2 separate regions of the Homo sapiens genome follow, and region 2 is linked to region 1. The links are contacts of gene promoters, found by promoter capture Hi-C in blood cells and fetal thymus (Javierre and others, 2016). All regions are on one chromosome and are shown on one strand. The core of a region is centred on a gene start or on the middle of the fragment in contact, and the rest is flanking DNA. Distances in the headings are between cores, read along the strand shown. Region 1 holds the start of SAMD12 (sterile alpha motif domain containing 12). Region 2 overlaps MED30 (mediator complex subunit 30).

Region 1 (6,697 bases), core at 1-2,500:
GCAGCAAGCCAGCCTCGTGGCCTTCTCGTCTCTAGCCTACAAGGAATAGGCTGATTTCCCCTTGGCAAGGCGCCTGAAGCAGCTGGCAGGCAAGCCCTCCTCTTCCTACTTCAGTACGCCCTCTGACCTGACTGCACTCAGAAACCAAAATTCTGCAGGTGAATGTAGGCTCCCATTTCGTCCCACAATCATTTCATCATTCAGGCACAGCTTGACCTCTAATGTGACATCACAAACCCTTCCGGTCCACAGTTTTTTTTTCTTCTTCAGAAACTACCTAAACAAGGAAGTTTGTGTTCCAAGGTAAGATAACCTGAAATGAAAAACTCAGGATCCCTCACGAACAGCCTGACCCTGCTTTCAACCAGGAAGTTCAAGGGAGGCAGGACTTTACGGTCAAAACTGCAAAGCCGAAGCTCAAGACTGTAAGAAGAAAGTGATCTTCAAAGAAAAGGATTCACCCAAATCGAAGAGGTTGTTGCACTTCTTTTCCCTGGCTGATTACATTTCATGTCTGTAAACTTTGCTAAGCCCGGGGCGCTGGCTGTATAAGCAGAGACAGGTGTAGGGACACCTCTACCCTCTGGGTACATCTGCGGCCGCCGCTGCTGGGTGCATAGGACGAAGGGCCCTCGACCCAATCCCAGTCCAAGCTTCCGGATGACGCACCTGGGCTGGGGACCTCTCCCACGTGAGGGGGGCCAACCAAGCATCCCCAGCCCCGGGGCCACCCAGCCTGCTCCGGAGGGAGGGGGCAGGGAAAAAGGGCATCTCGGGGCCAAAACCTCATGCCGGATCCTCCGGCTTTCCCCCCATTTCCAGGATATCGTTTCGCATCAGGGACACTCGTCTCCACACCTCCTACCTCAAAGTCCTACGCACCTACCCTTCACGTCTCTCCAAAGCAACTGAATTAAAGCGCCTACTGGCCTTGGCGGCGCAGGTGAGTGCCAAGAGGTGGAGGAGGAAGGGGCCCGCTCTCCGCCACCCCCTTTCCTCGCCTCCCCACGATCGCCAAGCTTCATCGGGGATGTGTGCCTTGGGGTGCGCGGGTTAAGAGGGAGCTTAAAAATGCCCCAAGCGTCCCTTACCTTCCACAGCCATTCTCTCAGAGCTTCCCTAACGCATGCATAATTTTCTTGGCCGAGGTACTCCTCCTGCCCCGCGCTCCCCCCTTCCTCTCGCTTTCGCCTAAATATTCTGCGCTTATCTGCTCCAGGACCAACCTGCCGCGGTCACGCAAAGCGAGGCAGCCGGCTCCCGGCTCGGCGCGCGCAGGGCGTCCTGGGAAGTGTAGTTCCCTCCCTTCGCTCGGACTGGGGAGAGCACCCCGACTCCTCCGCGGAGTGCCGCCTGGCCCCGACACTTGGAGAGCAACTCCAGCTTCAGCTGGCCAGGCCGAGCAATCTCTCCTGGGGAAGTTGTGAGGGGACCAGGGATGCCTGGTTGTGGCGGGGCGGGGGGGGAGGGGGGGGGGGTTCCCGGGAAGCGGTCTGGACTACATCTCCCAGGAGGCCGTGCGCTGAGATAGGTTCGCTGCTAAGAGTAGGGACCCGTGATTGAGCCCTTCCCTGTCCATTACAAGGGGTTTGGCACCTAGCAGGTGTGGTGAGGTGGGCAGGTGACGGTCAGCTGTGTGATGAGCTCCTGCGAGCTCGTCCGTGGGCCTCTGCCGCCGGTACCGCCCCGCCCCCTGGCCTCCTGAACCACCATTTAGTAGGGAGAGCAGGACCACTGTCCTCCTGTGTGGTTCTCCACCTGGGCCAGAGAACGCTGCCCAGGGTGAGGTTGAAACTTGTTCCTTCGCACCCTGAGATGTATGGGTTTTGTGGGGGAATTCCGACGGTTGATACAGTTGTCTTATCCTACAGGGTGGTTCAGGTGGCTAAATACTTGGCATGGGGGTGTAGGGGAGGAGGAGTGGCTTAAACCCCAATAGGCAACGTCCCCAAGGGGTTGTTAGGAACAAAGTCTGGGAGCCAGGATTGCACCGGAGGAGGTCAGATGAAAGCCTGTCTGGCTTCCAGGATAGGAGGCTTTCAATTTGCCTAGACTTGGAGCCTGTTGACAGCCTGTGATAGGGCCTAATAATTAACAGTGCCTGAGAATCAGGTTCCTTCAACTTCTGAACCTATGTCCTAGCTGTAGGTGCTGGGGATGCTATAAGCAGACATGATAATGGGAATCACGTGGATAGCAATACAATTCGACAGCTCGTAAAAATTAAGTTTCTAAACATTTTTTCCTGCGTGTGAAAATACGGATACAGTTGTGGCTGGAAGGGGTAAGGGAATAGCCTCGGGAATAAATCTGGCTCAAGACTGGATTGACTTTTAAAGGCCTTCAGTTTACAAATGTATTTGGTACCACATCCACCCAGTCACTCATATATAATGTTAATCTCTGTAAAATGAGGAAGTACAAAAATCGGATTCTTCCCATGATGACTACTTAGACATTTTTGTGTGTCTTGGTCATCAGCAAAAAAAAAAAAATGTTTTTCAAAACAATTTCGTTTCTCAGTGTATACATGCACACCTGTTGTTCTGGTCACTAATTACATGCTTAGTTCCCCTACTGGGTAATATATAATAATAATATGTGTATAGGTACTTTAAAAAATACCTGCGTGTAACCATTAAATGCTCTTGTTGATACTTTAATTCTGAGTCCATGGAGCTGTGTACAAGTCAAACCTAAGCCTCTCTTTTAGGTACAGTAGAGAGAGACCCATTCAGTGAGACATAATTTCCATGGGAAAAAGAATTTTCCGACCTAATACACAGCCAAGCATTCTAAACTCTGGAAAGAACTGAAATCCAGGTGCTTCACTACTTTATGTATATAAAATCACCAAAGTGTTAAGTATTTTCTGAGATTGAATGAATGTGAAAGAAAGCCATAGGACAGGTAGTATCAATGGTTCTCAACCTTGGCTGTGCATCAGCCTTCTACAAATATATATTCCTAAGCTTTTATCTTAGTCTCACAGAATCAGAGCTTATGGGGGTTTGGGTAGAGGCACTCAGGTTTTAAAAACCCACAGGTGATTCCAGTCTTCATTGAGGGTGAAAACCATTGGTCTGGTTCCAAGCTTTTAAATATCTGGGTGATATAAAAATATAAAAGTCATTGAAATCTGTGGTTAATTTTAAAACTTCATCTTAGCTCATCTTTAATATTTTTCCCAGTGATGTGCATTCTAGACGAGTTTTATTTTTAGTATAAATAAAATGTGAAGGAGATGTTAGTTTCTACCATATGAAATAGCCAATGTTTGACCATTTTTAAAACCTACAAATAGAACAATTTCATGTGGTTCTGCCTAATAAGGGATAAACAATAGTTGCGCAGAGGTTTTCAATTCTGGCTGAACATTAGAATCACCTGGGAAGTACTAAAAAAAAATTACATTTATCTCTAGAATGTTTGAAAGATAAAGACACAAAATACCAACCGTTGGCAAGATTGTGAAGCAATAAAGATTTATATATTGCTGGTGGTGTGCAAATTCACAAAACCACTTTGGAAAACCATCTGAAATATTCAGCTGAATATATGCTTATCCTGTGACCCAGAAGTTCTACTCCTAGGTTTACACCAAACAAATATGCATACAGATGTTCTCCAAAAGACATGTGCAAGAATGTTTGTGGCTGCATTATTTTAATGTTCCCAAATGGAAAACAACTCAAATATTTATCAACACAGATTGGAGAGATGAACTGTGGTATAACCAAATAATTCCATATAGCAGGGGTCAACAAACTAAGACCAATGAGCCAAATATGGCTCACCATTTATTTCTTATAACTCACCAGCTAGGTGTGATTTTTACATTTTTAAATGGTTGGAAAAAAAACAAAAAAAGTATAATTTGCAAAGCCTGGAAATTATAAAGACATACTTACATAATATCCTCAATTTTGCCTCTTGTCCTACAAAGCCTCAAATATTTCCTACCTGATCCTTTGCAGAAAAAAAGCTTTCCAAACCCTCCTATAAAGTAATGCAAATGAAGGAATTACAATTGTATACAACAACATGATGAGCCACATGTATTAATCGATTGCTGTTAACAAATTATCCCAATATTTAGTGGTTTACAACAATACCCATGTATTACTTCAGTTTCTGTGGCTCAGTAATTTGGGCACAGCTTAGCTTCTGCTTTAGTATCTTTCACAGACTGCAATCATGACTTATTTTTGGTCTTTTTTATCAGCAGCCAAGTACAGTTCCTAACAGATATACCCAATTTTAGCAAGGGGCAAAGTCCAGACCTCATCCCATACCTCTCATAAGCCAAATTCTGTGTTCATTATGATGCTATTGTTTGTTCCTTATAGTATATAAGCACTTCGAGTGCTGGAACTGAGTCTTATGCTTCATATCTTCCAGATTCTTGGTCATAATTGTGGTTACATAGTAAGTACTCAATAGATAATTTATTACTACTATTTTTTTATCCTTGTTATAAGTAGCATTTGTTGGGAAATTACAAGTGCCAAGCTCTGTCTAAGCATCTTGACATACATCATCTCCTTTAATCACTACAATATTGTCAGATATCACTATTTTCCAGATGAGGAAATTGAAGCTCAGTGAATTTAAGTAATTTGCCCCATGTCTCCAAAACATGAATTGTAGCAAGGGGATTGAGGTCTACCTAAGTGTAGAACTCTGTGATGTTACTCCATCTAGATTTCAATACTGATTACGTGATCACAAATCTGAATTCATAAGCACTTGGCCAAATAGGAATTGTCATTACTAATAAAATGAAGGGTTTAAAATATTTTAATATCAGAAATTGTGATATTTAGAATGATTCAAAAATTTCTGAATATATCAGAGAGCACAGAAAGGGAAGGAAAAGCCCATTACCTTATAGTGAATTAAATAAAAAAAGAAATATTGAGATGAGGCTACAGATTTCACTGGATTCTAAGATTTAAAATAGTACATATAAGTACTTTACTGTATTTATTGTTCTAACTCGGTTGCTATATTCACAAGCCTCTACAGAAAACATTCATAAATCTCAAAAAGTAAATAGATTATGTTTCTATTCTGTTCAGGGAGATCTTCTAAACCTAACCAAAAGGATTCAAACCCTAAAAAGTAAAATTTTTGACAGGAGGAACTGAGAGGAAAAAAATAATTTTTTTGTAATTAAGATAAAAAATACTAACTCTAATCCTTGAGTCATGAATAAAGTGCCAACCATTCAAGTTATATCAGGCTTCCATTGGAGGAAGTAAGCATATTTCAGGGAACATGATTTAAGCAAAAGCCTAGTTGTTTTTGCTTAAATCACATTGTGCATAATTAAATCGCATTGTGTGTTATCTGTTTGTTGATAAGTTGGTGATATTCTATACCATCGTTCGTCTAAACTATACTTTCAAAATCAGACTTAAATTATGTCTTCAAAATTTGAGCAGAATCTGTCTACCTTTATATTAACTGGTTATCTGAATATTTGGCTTCAGTACTCAAGTTTCGTAGACATACAGAACTAGATTGTAATCCTGACTCTCATTTACTCGATGTTGGTTATTAGCAAAGTTCTTTGACATTTCTGTGCCTTGGTTTTCCCACATGTATTGTAATGCTATTAATTGTGTAATGTATACATTACCTAGCTCACAGTTTGGGGCTCAGCAGTGACTGAGAGAGTATCTATAGTGTTGTGCGCTGTCCTGGCACATAATGGATGCCCAATAAGTGTTTGCTCTTTTGATCATCCATGGAAGCCTGAGAGGCCATTCCCAAAGAACATGGATATAATTCAGTTAAGCAGTAGCAAGGGCCTCAGGATATTTGCCAAGTGTGGAGTAAGTCTGCCCAGTCCGACTTGTAGTTAAGCCACTGAATGAACTTAACTTGATCAATGCAGAGCCTCCTCTGACAGGCAAGAAAACAGGGCTGTGCCATGGAAGAGCAGTGTCCTGGACACTTGTCCCTTTTTGGATAGGTTTTGTTGATAGAAAAGAGTGTGGGATTATTGTAGGCTCTAGTGGCTGACTGCATACAAACTTTCTGTGTTCTGGATTTCCAACCCTGAAGTATTAGGTTGGTGTAAAAATAATTGCAGTTTTTGCCATTTTTTTTTTTAATGGTAAAAACTGCCATTACTTTTGCACCAACCTAATAAATTTGCAGCACCTCTTCTGAGCAGAGTTGCCCCTACTTCCCCAACCAGGGGAAATTGTAAACTGTGTGTAAAAGCATAGGAATGGTCATCTGGAATTACTTGTCATTGGTACACATCAGCACAAGAGAACACTAGAAGAGATGCAACTTATTTTCACAACTGAACTATTCTATGCCAGATGTTTAAAAACTTAAGGTGTGATGGGCTCCCTTTTACTACTACTTCCAAAATGACCAGAAATCTTTACTAGGCAGAGATGCTAAAGCTGACCGCTTACTGTAGTTATTTGACCAGTCCTTTCCCTTCCCTTCTGTTCCTCTGTTAATAATTACCTAATAAACTTTATATTTTTAATCATTATATAGGGTACAGTGAGCCTTCACATACATTATTGCATTTTATCTTTACAATGGCTGTCAGTGGATAGTATTTACTTCATTTTATAGGTATGAAACAGAGGCTGGGCAAGGATGGATGATTAGCCCAAATTTATACACCCAGACAGAGCCTGAATTCAACACTTGAGACTTCTGCATT
Region 2 (6,697 bases), core at 1,197-3,696, 1.1 Mb before region 1:
TGGAATCACTATATTTTAAAAATATATTCTCTAAATTTAATCTTGGGTCATACCTATTTAGTTAATTAGGCATATATTTCTATAAGTCACCCTTTCCTGTTGACAAATTATATCTCTGCCACCAAAGGAAGCTGGTAAGAGATGACCAGAGAAAAATTAAACTGCAAAAATGCCTAAAAAGAAGGGGTCAGAGATGTGGGAGAAAGATCAGAAATGTGGCCTACATCGTCAGATGCTACAGAGAAGTCAGGGAAAATAAGGAATGAAAACTGTCCAGTAGATTTTGCTAGATGAAAATTGTTGGTATATTTGAGTAGAGCTTCAGTGAAATGATAGCAGCGTGAAGTCTGATCCTAGTCGGGTGAAGATTAAACAGGAAATAAGAAGCTGGAGCCGGCAAGTGGATATCAGTCTTTCAAGAAGCTTTGAAAAAAATAAGAGAGGAAAGCAGTAGATGGAAGGAGAGATGGAATCGAAGGTTTGCAGGAGGAAGAGGAGCTTCCCTCCAAATAGAAGAGATAGGAACATGTTTGAATAATAAAGGAAGAAAGCTGTAGGGAGAGGTTGAGAGAAAGGTGTATAAATAATGAAGACAGGAGGGCAGAGTAATCAGGGCACAGGAATGGAGACTAATCGTCTTCAGGAGGAAGGACAGCTCTGCATTGAGACAGATGAAAGAAAGAAAAGGAGAATGTAGACATGGGTGAGTTTATATATATCCCAAGAATTTGAAGAAGTTTTATCAGGTGAATCCTAGTTTTACCAGTCATTTACCTTTAGCCTATTCTTGCATTGGTAATACACGATGGTAAAGGCTAGGTGATTCCTGAAGTCTGCCACACTTATGCGGTAAATTCCATCACTAACCATGCATACTTAATTACGATTCTGCTAGAAGTTTCATTGCTATATAAATTTGTTTCTCCTACAAAGAAAAAGTTCTCACAACTGCGAAAACTTAAGACATCTAGAAGTTTGCATAGACTCTGAAGTTTTAGATTGCAAGTTAATGACAATTATATAATACAGATCCGTGAAGTTCTTTTCTTTTTATTGCAGATGAAGGAAAGCCTGTTTTATCTATCTCAATAGACTACAAATCTCTTAGGGGCAGGAATCACATCTTGTTTGGCATTACTTTTATAGTGTTTCATAATTAAATATTTGCTGATTGAGTAGGGTTTTTTTAAATTTTTATTTTATTTTATTTTATTTTTTACTTCTCCCATCTTCCTGCTGGAAGTATTGTTTAGTTGTACATGACAACCAATGTTATAAAGGCTGTTTTGCAAAAGAAACCTGAAAGGGTAATGCATAGAATGCATTGAAATGGTCAACTATTAAAGCTCTTATTTCAGGCCATCACCTGAATTGAAATTATTTTTATACAAATAAAAGTATAAAAATTGACCTTAATCTGATATATTCTCTATACAAGTGATTAGAAAACTTGAATTATATTTTTGCCTTTTAATTTTTGTTAATCATTCCCAGCAACTTATTCCATATGTGGAAGAAGATGGCTCAAAGAATGATGATCGGGCTGGCCCACCTCGTTTTGCTAGTGAAGAGAGGCGAGAAATTGCTGAAGTAAATAAAGTGAGTTGTTAGTTTTTACATTTTATGTTTTAGAGTTATTGATAAAAATTACTAGGGAGTCTGATGTAACTCCAAAACATAATTTGAATTATCAAATTACATGAAGTTGTTTCTGCGGCAAACTTCACCTATTTAGAATACAGCCAAGAAATGAAAGGTAAGCAGAAATGCTGTCTGAATAGTCAGAAGAGAAATTGCAAAATTCATTCGATAAAGCTCTTAGAAGAGCTCCTTAGACACTTAGTCACAATCCATTTACTTTTTTCTTTTCTGGGCAGAATTCTACCTTTCTAGCTTATAGCATATTTGGAGCAGCAAATGATAAAAATTTACAAATATGAAATGTGAATGTCTCAACACCTGAATAAAAAATTTAGAGAACTATCCCAGCATTATTATCTACTCCAACCCCACAAAAAGCTTGTAACTGGAATGTATTTATCGCTGAATACTTTCAAAAGTTCAGAAGATAATGTTCAAATAGTTCTCGTGAAACAGAGAGAAATAGGGAAAGGTGTCAGTTCATTCTGGGGATGGAAATGTGGCCCCAGCTTAGCAAAACCTACCAGAGATAGCACAGTGAATAAAACTTTCAGCATCACTCTTTCACTGACAAATATAGATTGCCCCTTCCTGAAATTCTTAATTCTAATTAATAGAACTCATCAGTGTATTAATAATCCACCACTGCCAAAGAGAGTCTTCTGAGGTATATGAAGATTTTATAGTTCAGTTTGTATGTATAATACATGATGTCAGTAAACTACCTTGAAAAAAGATTTTCTCACATGTCTAAAAGACATCTGATAAAATTCAATACTGTTGCTGATTCAAAGGACACTTAAAACTATTAGCAAGACAGTGTGTTTTTTTTTTAAATCTTTTTCTTTTAGATAAATACCCAACATTTTTCATAAGGTGAAATATAGAAATATCCTTATTAAAAACAAGCATGAAATAAGATACTTTATAACACTATGTTTAATATTATTTTAGAAGTTATAGCCAGTACAAAAAGACAGTGGACAAATGACAGTTGGGAAACAGGAGTTACTATGTATGAGCTTGTTAGAATGGTCAAAGAAACTCAACTGATGAACAACTAGTCTATAAGAGTTCCGTAAAAGGGTCTAAGACAAGACTGATACCATGCTCTTACAATGCTGTAAACCTATTAGATTATAAGATTCTATTGACTCTTGTAACAATTAATATTAAGTAGATAGGAATTATGTCAATAATGTGTATGAATAAACTTATTAAGATACATAAAGGAAGCTTTGAATGATTAAAAGAACATATAAAGTTCTTGGATGAGCAATACATATTATAAAAATACCAGTCTTGATTTAATACTCACAGTTTTAATACAGTAACAATCCAAATCCTAATAAGAAAGCATGCAAAAACAATAGGATTTTAGTGCAATACCAATCAATAAACAAATCCAAATAAAACCCAAATGGAATTTTTTTCTTGAAAGTATACAAAAATATCAAAGAAAATGTTGATAAATACGACTAATAAAGCAGAATTCTTAGCTTCAAAAATTAAACTGTAATATGAAGCATATTATAAAAATGGTAATTAGGTGTATAATACTGGCACAAGAATAGGCAGATTAGTAAAATAATCTAGCCAGAAAAACAGCCTTCTTATTGTACATGAGAATTTAATATGACAGAAGAGGGCTTGTGTGGAAAATTAGTCTTTAGAAATAGAAACTTTGGGGGCGAAATTAAGCTAGCTTTTACATTACACCATAAATCAAAATGAATTTCAGAGTTGAAAATAAGACCTGCAAAACAAAATATTGGATAATTTTTTAAGTATTTTAAAACTCGGAAGAAAGGAAAAAGATGGATAGATTTTATAAAATAAAATTTTGTAACTTTTTTAAAAGGTGAAACACACATTTAGAAAACTATTTCCAAAAAATCTGATTGTAATACATGACAATCATAATAAAAAACTCACAGTAAAAAATTGGTAGAGGGTGAGGAGGAGAATGGGAACTTTTAGTTTAGATCTTGAAAAATAACTGGTGTTTGGTAGTCTAGATGTATGAGACATTCACTTATTAAGACGTGTTATATGTTTCTGTTGATAAATATGTATTACCTCAATAAATGTGTTCTGCTTATGTTTCTCTAATGATTTTTTTATAAAATATAATGAAATATGTATATAAATAAAACACCATTATAATAATAACTTTGGTTTCAGAGTACCACATGTGTAACTAATGTAAACATAGTTTGTTCTGTACCATAGAGGATTTTATAATATTTTGTAAAAAATAAAGCTGTGTAAATTCAGAAAGATACTTTTTCTATATTTACATTTCTCTTCAATTTTCATTAAGTTTCTCTTTTTTCCCAATTTGATAACTTAGAAATAACATGTCTTTGACTTTTAAAAGTTCTCTTTTATAATCAAAATATGGTAATTCTTTGGCAGCATGTAACCAAAAAAAAAAATCTTACTATCTACTGACATAGAGTTTTGTGGATTTTAAGTAAAGGATATAATTGAAACAAGGATATGATGTATAAAAGGACTTCTTTCTCCCCATGAGGATTTAGCTCCCTACAGCCTCTCTCTCCTGGACCCACCTACATAATTGTTTCCCTCAAACCTTTCAGTGCACTTATATCATATTTGGGGTTCAGTAAATAATCTGTATCATATAATTATGGCTTCATAAGTATTGTTTATTGCTAAGCCGCATAGTATACTAGGGTCATATTTCCTTGATTGAATAATTTTTTGTTTTTCTGAAGTTAATTCTTACCTCTTTAATTTTCTAAAATTTTAGTTAGTTTTTTATGCATCTATGACAACATCTCAGTACTATTTTCCAATTTTCCACAGTCAGAATCATCAGACAGTTTCATGGTTCTCATCCCACCCTCCCAAGTTTTCTATGGTCTTATAGGTCTGGATGGAATGCTGGCTAGGCCTGCTTTTCAGCTCTGGGGCTTTCCTTCACCTCTTCTGTTGGTTTCACTATTTCTTCAGCTCATGTCTTCCCTTTTCTTGGTTTTCTTCCTTGTTGGTGATGTGCATACATCAGTGACTTCTTTAGAAGGAATGCAGACACTTAAATTTTGAGTCCTTACATATTTGTCCAGTTGATAGTTTGGCTGGCTATAAAATTCTATGTTGTAAGTTATGTTTCCTCAGAAATTTGAAGGCATTCCATAATCTAGTATAGGGTTTGGCAGACTTTTTGTTTAAACTACTAGATAGTCAATCTTTTAACCATTCCTCCAGTTTTCATTCCCAGGGCTCACCTGGTGCCTCTGAGATGGTCTCTGTCTGTGGTTCTCCATGGTGGATCAGGCGTATTCTCGGTGGCATCCCTCTTGCATGCCCAGGCCTTCTCTGAGTCACTGACCACTCCCTCTTTACTTTTCATCTGAAAATTTACCTTGCATCTGCTGTTGTGTCCTTTCTGATCACTTTTCTCTGCATCAGTTTATAGCTTTTTTTATTCCTCTCCTGCCACACACTCAATAGATACACAATGTTTCTGAAAGTTTGTGTATATTTACGGAATGAAAGTATTTTAAATTTTTTTCCCCATTTTTACTTCTGACATTGAGATCTCTTCCTTTGATTAAATGACTTGGATCTGTTCTAAGTGCTTTTAACTTCAGGATAAAACATGTTTTAGTTAACGTGATATCAAACTGATGGGTTATTACAAAGAGAAAAGAATCAGTTTAGGTGTTTTAAATGAACCAGGTTTAAAGCTAAACTCTATTTCTGTGGGAATTGCTTTTTAAAAGACAATTTAGAGGTAAAGTACCTTCTTGAGTATCATGGGGAAGAACTCATTTGATGACCTCATAACTCTCTTTGTATGAATTCTTCTACCTATATTTTGAGAAAGCACTGAAAGATTAGGTGGTGGGCACAGGGAAAAGATGGGAGAGGGCTAACATTTGGTTAACTTAAATTTAAATCCCAAATAAGGAAGAAGAAAATAAAATTAACTGCTAAAAGGCAAACAAATTGTTTTTTTTTTTTTTTTTTACCAAAAGGGCTTTTTAATTCATTCCTTAAAAAAATATATAAATGTGAATTAAATGTAGCATATTCTGTTACTAGAATAATCTTACCTACAGTTAACCCTAGCTACTGACATAGAGTTTTGTGGATTTTAAGTAAAGGATATAATTGATACAAGGATATGATGTATAAAAGGACTTTCTCCATATGAGGATTTAGCTCTCTACAGCCTCTCTCTCCTGGACCCACCTACATAATTGTTTCCCTCAAACAATTTTATTTTATTATTTTCCTCAACTTCTTTAAGCTCTGTGTCTCCATTCTAGAATATAAGATTAAAATATATGATTAAAAGTTTTAATTTTTAAAATACTGAGCTCGTGATCCATTGATACTTTTTTTTTTTTTTTTTTTTTGAGAGACAAAATCTCTCTCTGTCACCCAGGCTGGAGTGCAGTGGCACGATCTCGGCTCACTGGGTTCAAGCAATTCTCCTGCCTCAGTCTCCTGAGTAGCTGGGGTTACAGGCGTGCACCACCATGCCCGGCTAATTTTTTTGTGTTTTTAGTAGAGATGGGGTTTCACCATGTTGGTCAGGCTGGTCTCAAACTCCTGACGTCGTGATCACCTGCCTCGGCCTCCCAAAGTGCTGGGATTACGGGCGTGAGCTACTGCACCCAGCCGATACATCTTTTTTTTTTTCCGTAATGGCACACACACCCGAGGGTGTTTCTCGTAGTGAAAACTGGCTATAGATGATAATGTACTGATTTGATTATTTAATCACATAGATGCTATTAAAAATAAAGTTCACTGATTTGATTTGACCACTATTTATAAATAGCTACATTCATAAACTTAAGTTTTTGTCTCTGTCAATTATGTTAATCCACATTCTTATGTAAATATAGGTTTGCTTTTTTTTTAGTTCATGCATTTACTAGGTGATAGAGTTTTAAAGTTCACGGAATCTTAGCTGGTAACACTAAAACATTGAAAATACATCTTACCTATTATGGTATGGAGTATAAAATGCATAGTTTTTAATAATGGCCATTATTAAATGTCTTTTTTTTTTATA

What was found. The method cuts DNA at HindIII sites, captures the fragments that hold promoters and counts their contacts. A CHiCAGO score of 5 or more calls a contact.
Region 2: a fragment that was not itself captured here is called in contact with the fragment with the promoter of SAMD12 in region 1 in 1 of 17 cell types (fetal thymus); the score reaches 5.1 in fetal thymus.

The regions. Positions count from the first base shown.
Region 1 is chr8:118,620,713-118,627,409 of GRCh38, forward strand. It overlaps SAMD12 (sterile alpha motif domain containing 12), which reads right to left and starts at 1,251. Exons shown (of 4, transcript NM_207506.3): 1 at 1,092-1,251. The coding sequence starts at 1,104. It overlaps SAMD12-AS1 (SAMD12 antisense RNA 1), which reads left to right and starts at 289. Exons shown (of 5, transcript NR_038210.1): 1 at 289-474; 2 at 823-943. RefSeq lists enhancers at 244-293, 324-533, 1,144-1,343 and a silencer at 1,444-1,593. The HindIII fragment of the contact is 1,953 bases long and covers 1,018-2,970 here.
Region 2 is chr8:117,529,229-117,535,925 of GRCh38, forward strand. It overlaps MED30 (mediator complex subunit 30), which reads left to right. Exons shown (of 4, transcript NM_080651.4): 3 at 1,495-1,599. Among named protein-coding and RNA genes, the nearest start is that of MED30, 12 kb to the left of the region's middle. The HindIII fragment of the contact is 858 bases long and covers 2,018-2,875 here.